2 separate regions of the Homo sapiens genome follow, and region 2 is linked to region 1. Evidence: promoter capture Hi-C in 16 types of primary human blood cells and fetal thymus (Javierre and others, 2016). All regions are on one chromosome and are shown on one strand. The core of a region is centred on a gene start or on the middle of the fragment in contact, and the rest is flanking DNA. Distances in the headings are between cores, read along the strand shown. Region 1 holds the start of ATP2B4 (ATPase plasma membrane Ca2+ transporting 4). Region 2 has its middle 5.5 kb from the start of LINC01353.

What was found. The method cuts DNA at HindIII sites, captures the fragments that hold promoters and counts their contacts. A CHiCAGO score of 5 or more calls a contact.
Region 2: a fragment that was not itself captured here is called in contact with the fragment with the promoter of ATP2B4 in region 1 in 2 of 17 cell types (total CD8 T cells and activated CD4 T cells); the score reaches 5.3 in total CD8 T cells.

What each region holds. Positions count from the first base shown.
Region 1 is chr1:203,622,659-203,629,029 of GRCh38, reverse strand. It overlaps ATP2B4 (ATPase plasma membrane Ca2+ transporting 4), which reads right to left and starts at 2,198. Exons shown (of 21, transcript NM_001684.5): 1 at 1,811-2,198. RefSeq lists enhancers at 1,457-2,329, 2,330-3,204. The HindIII fragment of the contact is 13,651 bases long and covers 1-2,537 here.
Region 2 is chr1:203,278,598-203,284,749 of GRCh38, reverse strand. No RefSeq gene overlaps it. Among named protein-coding and RNA genes, the nearest start is that of LINC01353, 5.5 kb to the left of the region's middle. RefSeq lists a silencer at 1,406-1,455. The HindIII fragment of the contact is 386 bases long and covers 3,457-3,842 here.

The sequences.
Region 1 (6,371 bases), core at 949-3,448:
CTCCAAGCCCTGGGGCTGAAGGCAGGTGTTTCCTCTCCCCCAGCCTGATTCCCACAGATTTGTCTGCTTCAGGGTTTAGGGCCCACCTTCCAGAACACGCCTTACCAAGCTGCCACCATCCTTCCTGCCCCTCCCAGAGTCTGCTCCCCAAGCCACCACCCTCAGCCAAGGAGGGTAACTCAGCACATGGGCTAGGAGGCCTCTTCCACTCCCCTTCTTCCTAAACACTCCTGGCCCAGCCCCTCGTCACTCCCAGGCTGCTTTCCTGGGCCTGGCCCAGCCTGGAATGAGCCTGGTCTCCTTCCTCCAGGTAGAGGGCTCAGAGTGGAGGGGGCGTAGTAGGGCCTCCAATGGGAAGCGCGTGGAGAAGGGGCAGCTTGGGGAGGGGCTTAAGGAGCAGGGCCAGGGTCTCTAGACTCCCTGCCAGACTCCTCACACAGAGGAGGGGGGCGCTGCAGAATGGGATTTTGTTTCCCTTCCCTCCCCCACTCCTTTCCCCTCTCCACAGGGGCCTCAGTTGAGTACCGGCCTATTTCTTCATCTGACATTCCCCCTGCCCGGCCAGCAGGCGCCGGCATCACGTCTGCAAGTTATTGTTAAGTCCGGCAGGAATGCCCAGGAGGGACGTGCCTCTGGCAGCAGAGTGCCCACTCCCCTCCCAAGATGCGGCTGGCCACTCCTGCACCCTCCACACCCAGTTGGAGAAGAGCGGCGGGTACCCTCAGGGAGGTGGAGGAGTGTAAGAGGCCAGACTCGACTCGGGGAAGGATGCCAGCAGCCCCCTCTACCAAGAGCGAGCCAAGTATGTAAAAGAAAGAGAGAAGGGAGAGCAGGAAGGACAATCCCAGTCTTAATTCCTAGCTCTTCAGCAAGCCAAGGCAGTGGCCCGAGACGCTCAGGGATCCTTCCACAGATGCCTGTGGCCCACCCCATCTGCCAAACACTCACCAGCCCCACAGTGTCCAGCCTCGACATCGGAAACTTTTCAATTCACCCTTCTCCTTCCTCCCCTTTGGGACCAGAGATGTGTGGGGCGGTGCCCTCGGAGACACTCATACAGTTGGTTCTGGACGCTCACACACACTCAAACAACAGCGGTACGAGGTAACTCCCAGCTTTTTCCACAGCTAATTATACATGTGAAAGTCTGAGGATGTTTTGCAAGCAGCACAGAGAAACTGCTGAGGTTTCTCTGCAAAGCTAAAGAAATTTAATTCGTGCACTCTCCTTCCCCACTCCTGCCAACTTCTCCCAGCCCACCTCCACCCCATGGCCCCAAAGTGCCCCTCTCCTAGTTCCCGCTGCAGCCCCTCTTTCTGCTGAAGATTTCTTTGGTTCCTTTTTTTTTTTTTTTTCCATCTCTCTTTTGGGCTTTCGAGAAAGGGAACAGACACGGAAAATATTTTTGCAACAGTTTTCCATCCTGCGTCTCATTCCCAAGCCAAGGGGGGAAGGGGAGGGCAGGAACGGAATGGGTTGAGGGAGGGGAGATAAATATTTTTTCCAAGAGCTCAATTTTGGTGTCAAAAAGAGAACCCTCCATTACCCTACCCCATAGCCCAGGAATGACAAGAACTAGGAAAAGAGAGATAAATCACTTGTTCGACTATATGGTTTCTCAGAACTGATAATAGGTAAAACAGTATTTGACAAATCTGTGCACACACACATATTTTAAAAAAAATCCTCCAAACCCAGTCGCATGAAATATTCTAGAAAGAGGAAAATCGGGGAGTTTTAGAAGCCATTGAGAGAAAAGAAAGAAACAAAGTTTGCAAATCACAAGTCAATTCATTCTCTGCAAGCCTACCTCTCTTTCTAGCAAAGATCCAGGTTTCTTCAGGCGGGACTCTCCCTCCGGGTTTCCATGGATGAGGGTAGGGTGGGGTGACCACCCACCAGTCTCCCCAGTGTGGCAACCAAGCTAGAGACGCTGGCTTTGCTCTCTTGCCTTTCTGGCTAAGGCCGGGGAGTGGGCTGGGTCTCCTCCCCCTGCCCCTCCAATGGGAAGGACCTCTCAGGTTCCTGAAAGAAAAAGGGTGCAGGAGAGCTGGGCGGGTGTCTCTGATCTTGCTCTCTTCGGAGGGATGGTGCCCCACGAAGTTCGTGCCCCCCCTCCCAGCCCCCAGCTTTGGACGATCTCAACAGCAGAGCTTTCTTAAGAAAATGCTTGTCATGGCAACAGCTCTAGCTAACTCGGGCCAGACTCTTGCTCACCAGCTCTCCCCAAGCAGTGCGGGAAGAGAGAGGGGAGGAGCAGGAGCTGGAACAGAGGTGGGACTTGGCGCGAGGCCAAACCATTACTCTACTGTTAAGGTGGCCCGATTCTTGCGGTTACTTCCTGGTTCGTCTTAAGGGGGAATGGGAAAAGAAAGGGAAGCAATCCTCTCCCCTGTCGGCTTTCTTCCCCGCCCTTGCTCTCACTTGTTGAATAGAAAGCTGAGTAGGGGTGGAGGAGGGGTGAGGGTGGAGGTGGGGAGTGGATGTGGGTGGCGGTATTCAACGGTTGCTGGGCGGAGGGGAAAAAAAAGGAAGCTTGGGCAGGCGGCTGGCTTCCTGCAGCTCCTACGGGCCTCTCAACCCCTTACTCACTTAGATCCAGGACCCAGAAACCCGAGGTGTCTGTGGACACTTGTATGTCCCCTCCTACCTTCCTGCTCCTGTCTGAATAGGGGGTTCCTTGGAGAAGGAGAATAAATTGTTTTGTAAACACACACACACACACACACACACACACACACACACACACACACACACCCGTCCTCCCCTACACCTTATATACAGGTCACATTTTGTTCCCTCTTGTCCCTGTACCCACCAGAGGTATACTGACAGTGCATGAAAATAGCTGCTTACTTTTGAGTCCTGCTATGCGTGGGCTATGACACCAAAAGCTTTGTCTATATGGTATCGTTTCTAGTCCTCATTTAATCTTGAAAGGTACTTATTATTAACCTCATTTCCTAGTTGAGGGAATTGAAGATTGAGTGTCTGGCCCAAGGTTATACATCCGGCTAATGACAGAGCCAACGATTCAAGACCAAGTCAGACAGACTCCAAAGCCCGAGTACTTTCCTGTACTTTGTATCATACTCCGGCACATATTTCCGTTTTAATTTGCACACACTCAGACATCCATGCACACTTATACACAGCCTGTAAACAGTTAATCACACCCCCATACCCACACACCCACTAGCATTGTGCAACAGTGCCACCCATAGATTTTGCATAGAACTTTATGGCTTTCAAGCACAAACATGCACCATCAGCTGGTTCACACAACATATCTTCATTGACTGACAGATTCCCACACCTACCTCAGCAAACACACTCATGTTTATATGCTTATGGAAGGCACATTGACATATGTCTCACAGGTTATAGCTATGAGCTATGCTGTGAAGAAGGTGACTGGCCACTACTTCCCAACCTTTTAAACAGAGGGTTGGGAAAAGGCCTCTTTGATCCTATCATTCTAACCCAACAGCTCACACCACCCCCTGTCCTTCTTTGCTGTCATCTCTGCCCCCAAGAAGCAGAGCCACATGTGCATGGAGAAACAGGGTTGTGAAACGGGGTCCAGTTTCCCCCGTGTCCAACTAGCACCCTTCCCAATGTTCTCTCATTTGGGTCCTCTTTTTCCTCTTCATTTTCTTACCCTGCTATTTCTTTTTTCTTTATGGTTTTTTTTTTTTTTTTTGAGACGGAGTCTTGCTCTGTTGCCCAGGCTGGAGTGCAGTGGCGTGATCTCGGCTCACTGCAAGCTCCGCCTCCGGGGTTCACGCCATTCTCCTGCCTCAGCCTCCCGAGTAGCTGGGACTACAGGCCCCTGCCACCACGCCCGGCTAATTTTGTTTTTGTATTTTTAGTAGAGACGGGGTTTCACCATGTTAGCCAGAATGGTCTCGATCTCCTGACCTCATGATCTGCCCGCCTCGGCCTCCCAAAGTGCTGGGATTACAGGCGTGAGCCCCCGCACCCGGCCAGTAATGTTTTTAGACTGGTTGGGCTGGGCTCAGAACTCAGAGTTCATCAATGTGAGGCTGGAGATTGCCTGCTGTCATCTGAAAACAAAATCCAAAATAAGCCCTGGCTAGGCACAGTGGCTCATCCGTGTAATTCCAGTACTTTGGGAGGCTGAGGAGGGAGGATCACTTGGGGCCAGATTTCAAGACCAGCCTGGGCAACATAGCAAGACCCACCCCATCTCTACAAAAAAATTAAAAACAAGAGAAAAAAAATAAGCCCCTGCCTGTGCTTGTGCCTCTCCCTGCCAGCAGCCGAAGAAAGTTGCAGGGGTAAGGGGAGATTTTAGGGTCACCCTCTATGGGAACTATGGATTGTTTGGTCTTTTTTGTCTAGTGATTGACTGTCTGACACTCAAGGCACTTACAGGACACTAAAGGTGACCTTTGTTCTCATTTCAGCCTCTTGCAACTCCTCTAGTCACTCCCACCTTCCCAGGGCATTTCAAGAACAGTTAGTACCTTGTTAGATTCCTTCCTTCCTCCCTCCCTCTTCCCTCCCTCTTCCATTCCCTCCCTCTTCCCTTCCCTCCCTCTTCCCTTCCCTCCTTTTTCCCTCCCCTTCCCTCCTTTTCCCTCCCCTTCCCTTCCCTTCCCTTCCTTTCTCCCTTTCTTTCCCCTTCCTTCCTTCCATCTCCCTTCCTTCCTTCCCTCCCTCTACCTTCCTTCCTTCCTCCCTCCCTCTTTCTTTCTTTCTTTCTTTCTTTCTTTCTTTCTTTCTTTCTTTCTTTCTTTCTTTCTTTCTTTCCTTCCTTCCTTCCTTCCTTCCTTCTTTCTTTCTTTCTTTCTCTCTTTCTTTCTCTTTCTTTCTTTTTCTCTTCCTTTTTTCCGTCCTTCCTTCCTCTCTTCCTTCCTCCCTCCCTTCCCTCCTCCCTTTCCTTCCTTCCTTCCTTCTTCCTTCCTTCTTTTTTTTCATTATGGGTCTCCCTGTGTTGCCCAAGTTGCTTTTAAACTCCTGACCTCAAGTGATCCTCTCGCCTCAGCCTTCCTAGAAACTGGGACTACGGGCACACCCTACAATGCACAGCACCCTTGTTAGATTTTGGTAGACCCTAGCAAAATATCAGCTTCAGGAGCCCAAATCAATTGTTGGGGAAGACATGAGAAAGAAAGGAAAAGAAATGAATCAGCTTAACAGAGCTGCAGATTTAATGGCTTGTCAGGCTCCCTGCTGGATGGCAACAACATGACATTTTAGCACCAATGAGTGTCAGTTGCATCTTTATCATAAGAAAGCCAGTCTCTGAAATGACTGTTTAAATGTATTAAAGTATATTTTAAGCTCGTCTGCAGTGGCTGTGTGTGGAGGCATTGCCTAACTGTTCAGTAAACTTGTCTTGGGGGAATGACAATTTAGGCCAGATGTATGGTCCCAATAAAGAAGAAGTCTGCTTTGGCTGCCTGTTTTGTGGGGACTGGGAAATGATACCCTTTCATAGCTGGTTATTATTGGAAAGGTAAGATCTTCCCCTCAAGCTCCCTGGATTCCAGGGAGACAGGCTCTGCCAGGGAGGTGCTGTCAAAAGAGGCTCTGATGGCTGTCCCACATCTGGCTGGCTAGGATTCAGGGGCAGGCCAGGTTTATGACTTCCAGGGTGGCTGTAGATCCTCCCCTTGACCGGCTGTGGGGTTGTGGGATGAGAAAAAAGGAATCCCCCTCCCACTCCATTCCCACCCCAGCTCTGCTGCAGACAGGAGGGAGGGATGTCGGGGGGTGGGTCAATGTGACCCCAGAGGAGCCGAGGGGACCATAGCCTGATCTCTGTCACTGAGCTGACCACTGAGGCCTGTGTTTTCTGGAAAGCTAGAAGCCTCAGTGCTTCGCTTCTTGCAGCGGCAGGTTTGAGGTCTAGAACGGGTAAAAATAAATCTATCCATAAAAATAACCACTAGATGTGGGAAAATGGAGTTGGCCCCCCTGGGGCAAGAAGGAGGACACTGCCTCTGGCATCAGAAGTTCATAGTCTGCCTGTTCTGCTCAGCTCTGAGCAGTCCTGTTTCCCTCTTCTCCCTGCTGTACTCTTGACTTTACAGGTTCCTGTTCTTTAGATCTAGCCTGGCTCTCCTCAGCCTCCTGAACTCCCCATAGCAGGTCAGTCTCTACAGGGCTTACATCACTGTGGACCCTGTCCCTACCCCATCTCTCACTTGAGGAAAATGCAGTCAGCACTGTCTCTCACTTAGGTGTTTAACAGAATGTGTTCCTCTGCCTCTTGATGACTCCACCTTGAGTTTTCCAAATCTTCCTCACCATTTCCTGTACCTCCCCCGAATGCAGACTGCATGACTCCCTGTTGTGAATATCTACCATTTTGCCTTGGCTAGAACAGCAGCCATTTTCCC
Region 2 (6,152 bases), core at 2,400-4,899, 350 kb after region 1:
GGCCTCAAAGTCACAAGAGCTTTCTGGGTTTAGGGTCACCCTGCACTGATTCTGAGGAATTGGGAGTAAGACACAGACCCTCTCCATACACTTGGCCTGGGAGGATCATCCTGCCCTGCTCACGGGGGAGAGGGACAGAGCCCGTCAGTCCCAGCCCCAGCTCTCCGGCATGATGCCAGAAGTCAGGAGCCTGGTGAACTCTCTGGCTCAGCCACCGACTCTCTGGGTCTCAGACTTCTTCATTATAAAGTGAGGATGTCGGACTAACCGTACCTAAGATAGCCGTGAGCTTGGACAGCCGGGATGACCTTCTCTGTGCCAAATTACCCTAATTCCTTCCATCTTGTGTCATTTGCCTTCCACTTACTGGTCTTATATACATCTTTTTAAAGGATTTTATCAGTTTAGTTAAATTCAACATTCTCCAAGCAGCTGGTATACACCCGACATTGACCCGATACTGGAAAATCAATGGTGCTGAGATATCTGTTTTCAGAGTGCTTCCAGTCTAGCAGAGGAAGGCAGGCAAGAGAACAGACAATGAGACCAGGGTCTCTGGAAGCTGTGGGAGGGAGAAGAACAGGGAAAAGATCCCAGCAGGCCAGAAAGGGTTTTCCTCAGGTGACTTGGGTCTGAGAAGAAACTCACCCCGTTCCAGGAGAAGTAGGGGCAAGGGAGAAGGGGACTAACATTTTTTGTTTGTTTTGTTTTAAGATGGGGTCTCACTATGTTGCCCAAGCTGAAGTGAATGACTATTCACAGATGCAATAATAATGCACTGTAGCCTCAAACTCCTGGGCTCAAGGGATCCCCTCACTTCAGCCTCCTGTGTAGCTGGGACTATAGGTGTAAGCCATTACAACTGGCTGGGGGGACTAACTTGTAAGTTATTATTATTTATTTATTTACTTATTTTTGAGACAAGGTCTGGCTCTATCGCCCAGGCTGGAGTGCAGTGGTGTGATCTCAGCTCACTGCAGCCTCCGTCTCCCAGGCTCAAGTGATCCTCTCACCTCGGCCTCCTGAGTAGCTGAAGCTACAGGCATGCACCACTACACTTGGCTAATTTTTGTATTTTTTGTAAAGATGGGGTTTCGTCGTGTTGCCCAGGCTGGTCGCAAACTCCTGAGCTCAAGCCTCAGACTCCCAGAGTCCTGGGATTACAGGCATAAGCCACTATGTCCAGCCTTAAGTAATTATTTCTAATAGACCAAACACCATACTAGACAACTTATATGTATTATTTCACTTCATTCCTATAGCCTTTTGAGTAAGTATTAAGCCCATTTTACAGATGAACAAACTAACGTTCAGGGTGCCTAAACCCACACTGTAGGGTCAAGCTGAGACTCAAATTCAAATCTGCCTGATTCCGAACCCACGCTCTTTCCGCCCAACTAACAGAGTGTGAAGGGCACAAATAGCTACGACTTTGAATACTGGGTAGGGCCTGGGCCTCCTGGCCTTTTCTGAATCCTCCTGGCTTCTCCCCCAGCCAACAGGAGAACTGTCACTTTAAGAGGCACAGCCCCTTAGAAGGGTTGGTTTCCATTCATTTTTAATGGCCCAGCTGCTGTGGTCTCCCTGCCTCCCCATGGACTAGTCCAGGAGTTTCTCTGCAACTGAGCACTCTCATCACACTGGGGCCTGTCAATGTTTAATGGCAGCAAGGATCTTATCTCGGTTACCCAAGTCGTTTAGATTACTCCTGTGCAGGGTACCTGGAGCATGAGGGAAGGCAGCAGATGGCAGACCCGTCAGTCACCCCTCTGCTCTCTGGAGGGAGGAGGGATTATTGGAGCAGAAAGGGCGAGAGGGTGGGAGAAACAGAGGGTGGCAGGGAGACACACTGTAACAGGACAGAACGCCTCACTGCACGCTTGCATGGCCCTGGCTGTGTTCTCCACCTTCCCTATTCTCAGCCACCTCCCATAGGGGCAGCCCACTGCACATACTCCCAAGGCCCTCCTGGGAGACCCAAAACACAGGGGAGTGAGTGGTTGAATTTCTGTGGAGCTTGACCACAGTAAGTGACCTTTGAGCCCACTCTGGTGTTCCCCCTGGGCATCAGAATCTCTGCTTATTTTCAGGGAGAAAACACAGCACTACTTGTCTCTCTTATGAACTGTTGAAAACTCTAACCTCGGGTGCTCCAGAGACATGAGTGTGTTGCAAAGGTCACACAAACCATACCTTCAGTACAACCTCACGGATTCGTAGATATGTGAGCTGGGTCATGGGGGCAGGGTCCTGGGTCCTGGCTCTAGAGTACCCTGAGAGGGAGAGACAGGTTCTCGCTGCTCCCCCAGGCCCAGGGAATGCCTGGATCAGATAGTCGAGTTCTATTTGGGGAGTAGAACGTCACAGTTCAAACACAGAACCAGAGGCCACTCTGATGTTATTTACAGACCTTGTCTAAAGATCTAGCCTCCAAGCTGGGAGGGAGGGCAGTGGGCTTGCTGCCTTCTCCAATTTCTCCTGCTCTCTGAATTTCTTATATCCTGTCACCATCCCTCACCCTCCTACCTTGTCTCCATCCAGGAGCACCCTGTGCTGCGGTATCTGATGTGTCACTCACAGCTAGGAGCCTGGAAAGAGTGTTCTTAGGACAGAGGGAGGGGATTGGGAGCAGGACAGAGGACCCACCACCAGTGCCAGAGGACCCAGAGAGGTTCCTAGACATGGGGCTAGAGAACTGGGAGTGGGAGAGGGGCAAGGAGGGTCCAGGAAGGCCTCATTGGGTTGGGTGAACATTTCCCTGCCCCGAGTTCTGGGGCTTTCTGCCTGATGGGAGTTACAGTGAAAAACAGCAGGATGCTTTTCTAGGAAGACTTTGGCAGGTTGGGGGTGGGGGCGGTAACGGTGATTTCATAATTATTTCACTCCTAGTGAAATATTTATTTCACTATTAATTATGAAATAGGAATAATTTCATAATTATTTCACAAAAACTTAATGAGCAGCTACCATGCTCTAAAGTACTGGCAAATGAAGGTGAATAAGACAGGGTCTGTGCTGTCAGCAAATGTTCAGTTTATCTGGAGAAACAAGACGGATGCTTCCTGAGTAGTGAGGACTACAGGAACGTGCCACCCCATGCCCCACTAATTTTTTATTTTATTTTATTTTATTATGTGTAGAGACGGGATCTCCCTATGATTCCCTGTCTAGTCTCGAACTCCTGGGCTCAAGTGATTCTCTCCTGCCTTAGCCTCCCAACATGCTGGGATTACAGGCGTGAGCTACCATGCCCAGCGAAGAGCATTGCTTTCTTGGAAAACCAAGGCCAAGGAGGATGGCATTGATTTTTTTCCCTAGGAAGGCCCTGTGGGAATCCCAAGAAAACTGGACAAAAGGCAGCTAGCAGCCATTTAGCTGTGGGTCATCTTCACCTGCCACTCCTTCTTCCAAGGGTGGAGGCCCAATGCCCATCCTCTCCAGAGAAAAGGACAAGCTTGAAGTTCCCAGCCAAGCCCTCTACTGGAGGCAGCTGGGCTGGGCTGGAAGGAGGGGAAAATCCAGTCTGAGGCAGAAGCATGCTTTGGGGTTCTGCCTCCTGAGTCAGTTCTGGCTGCCCAGGGGCAAGGAGGAGTGGCCGAGCCCCACCCAGATCTCTGGGATGCTACATTTTCGTATTTTACATCAGTATAAGCTCTCATCTTCACAGTCTCGGGGCACCAAGTTCTTGTAAACAGAGGGAAATGTACTCTAGCAAAACTTCCCAGATCTGATCTACTTATTCAACAAAGTATTTACTGAGTACTCATTCATGCCAGACTGTTCTACATGCTAGGGATACAGCAACAAACACAAAAGGCAAAAATCCCTGCTCCCTTGAAGCTTATATTCTACCAGGGAAGACAGACGGTAAATAAGGAAATACCTAAAATAGTAATGATATTTACTATTGATAAATATTAATGATATTTACTAATGATAAATACTATCATAAAGGCTAACGTGAAATAATCCAGCAGCAAAGTGGGATAGAAGGTACCAATAGTGAGGCCAGGCGCAATGGCTCATGCCTGTAAGAAGCACTTTGGAAGGCCAAGGCAGGTGGATTGCTTGAGGTCAGGTGTTCAAGACAAGACTGACCAACATGATGAAACCCCGTCTCTACTAAAAATACAAAAATTACCTGGGCATGATGGCACATGCCTGTAGTCCAAGCTACTCAGGGACTACTCAACTCAGGGGAATCGTTGAACCTGGGAGGTGGAGGCTGCAGTGAGCTGAGTTCCCACCACTGCACTCCAGCCTGGGCAACAGGAGCAAGACGCCATCTCAAAAAAAAAAAAAAAAAAAAAAAGAATGTGCCAACAGCGAGCATATCATTGAAAGTTTAAATTGGACAGCCAGGGAGGGCCTCATGGAGAAGGCAGCCTTTGAGGGAGGCATGAGGATTCTGAAGGAATAGAATTCCAAGCTGAGGAAATGGCACGTAGAAGGGCACTGGGCAGAGTGGCGTGCAGCTGGAGCCAGGAGAGCAGGGGAGAAAGTGAAGAGGTGGAGTCAGTGGTGGTGGGCGACACCATCCTAAAGGGCCTCGTAGGCCATGATGAGAATGATGAGGACCTGGGCTTTTCCTCTAGTGAGAAGGAGAGGCCAAGGAGAATTTTGGCAGAGGAGTCAGATGATGTGACATATTTTTAAGAGACTGCTTCTGAAAGCTGTGCTGGAAATAAGTGAGGGCTGGGTGTCAGTGAGAAATGGTGGTGGTTTGGATTGGGTTGTTGGCAGTTGGAAGGTAAGAAGAGACTGGACATTTTAAAAGAGGAATCTACAGGGTTTGCTGACAAAATGTGGGTTGTGAGAAAAACCCATGTGTGCCAGGCACCATGGGAATATGTAATGTCGTTAAAATTTTACGTTAATCACGTAAGCAAGGTTCTATTTTTTTTTTTTTTTTTTTTTTGAGACGGAGTCTCGCTCTGCTCTGTTGCCCAGGCTGGAGTACAGTGACACAATCTCGGCTTACTGCAACCTCCGCCTCCCAGGTTCACGCCATTCTTCTGCCTCAACCTCCCGAGTAGCTGGGACTACAGGTGCCGCCACCACGACCGGCTAATTTTTTGTATTTTTAGTAGAGACGGGGATTCACCGTGTTAGCCAGGATGGTCTCGATCTCCTGACCTCATGATCTGCCGGCCTTGGCCTCCCGAAGTGCTGGGATTCCAGGCGTGAGCCACTGTGCCCGGCCTTTGCAAGGTTCTATTGTTATAGGCCACTTTATAGACGTGGAATCGCTTAGAGAGGCCAGGTGACTGGAAAAATCACATAGCTAGCAAGAGGCAGAGCTCTGGCATTTATTTATTTATTTTTGTTTTTTGTTTTGTTTTGTTTTCTAATTCCAGGTTAAGTTCACATAGAGCTGGTATTTAAACCAAATCTTCCACTGAACACAGACCTTGAACTCTTAGCAGCTATACTGTACAAATCTCATCCATTCATTCAACAATTCTCCATTGCTCATCAGCTCTGCTTCAGGCACTGGTCTACATGTTGAGGACGCACAGATGAGTAAGAGAAAGTCCTTGACTTTGAGGAATTTATGGTTTGGAGGCGGAGACAGAGGTAAATAGAAATAACAACAGCGACATAACCATGCAAAGTCCTAAGCTCTCAGAGGAGAGGTGAGAAAAGACCCCTCAGAGGAGGTGACGTGTGGGCAGATGATGAGTAGGGCTTTGCCAGAAGAATAGGAATGGATGGAAAAGCATTCCTGGCAGACGGAGCTGTGTGTGCAAAGGCCAGGAAGCCCCCAAGAAGGGCAAGCACTGGTGCAGTGTTTTGCTGTGGGAGTAGCGCAAGGAGGCCTGGGAGGCGAGATGAGACAGAGAAGTGAGCGGGGCAGTCAGGAACGCCTGGAAAGGGCTTCCCCAGGCTAGGGGCAGTCGTTGCAGTTACCAAGGGGGTGTGGAGCGAATCAGATCTCTCCTTATGTGGAGGGCGGACACCAGGCAGCAGACACAGTTTTCCCTATTTCAGTATGATGCTCCCTGGGAAATCTGGTAGGACTGAGAGAACAGTCCATGTTTCCAGGAAACAAACAGTACTCTGTCCCTGCGTGCATGTCTCTCTGTGTGTCTGTCTATAAATATCCTCAGACGCAGCACTTGGCTGCAGTCTCCCCCGAGCCCCCGCGGCAT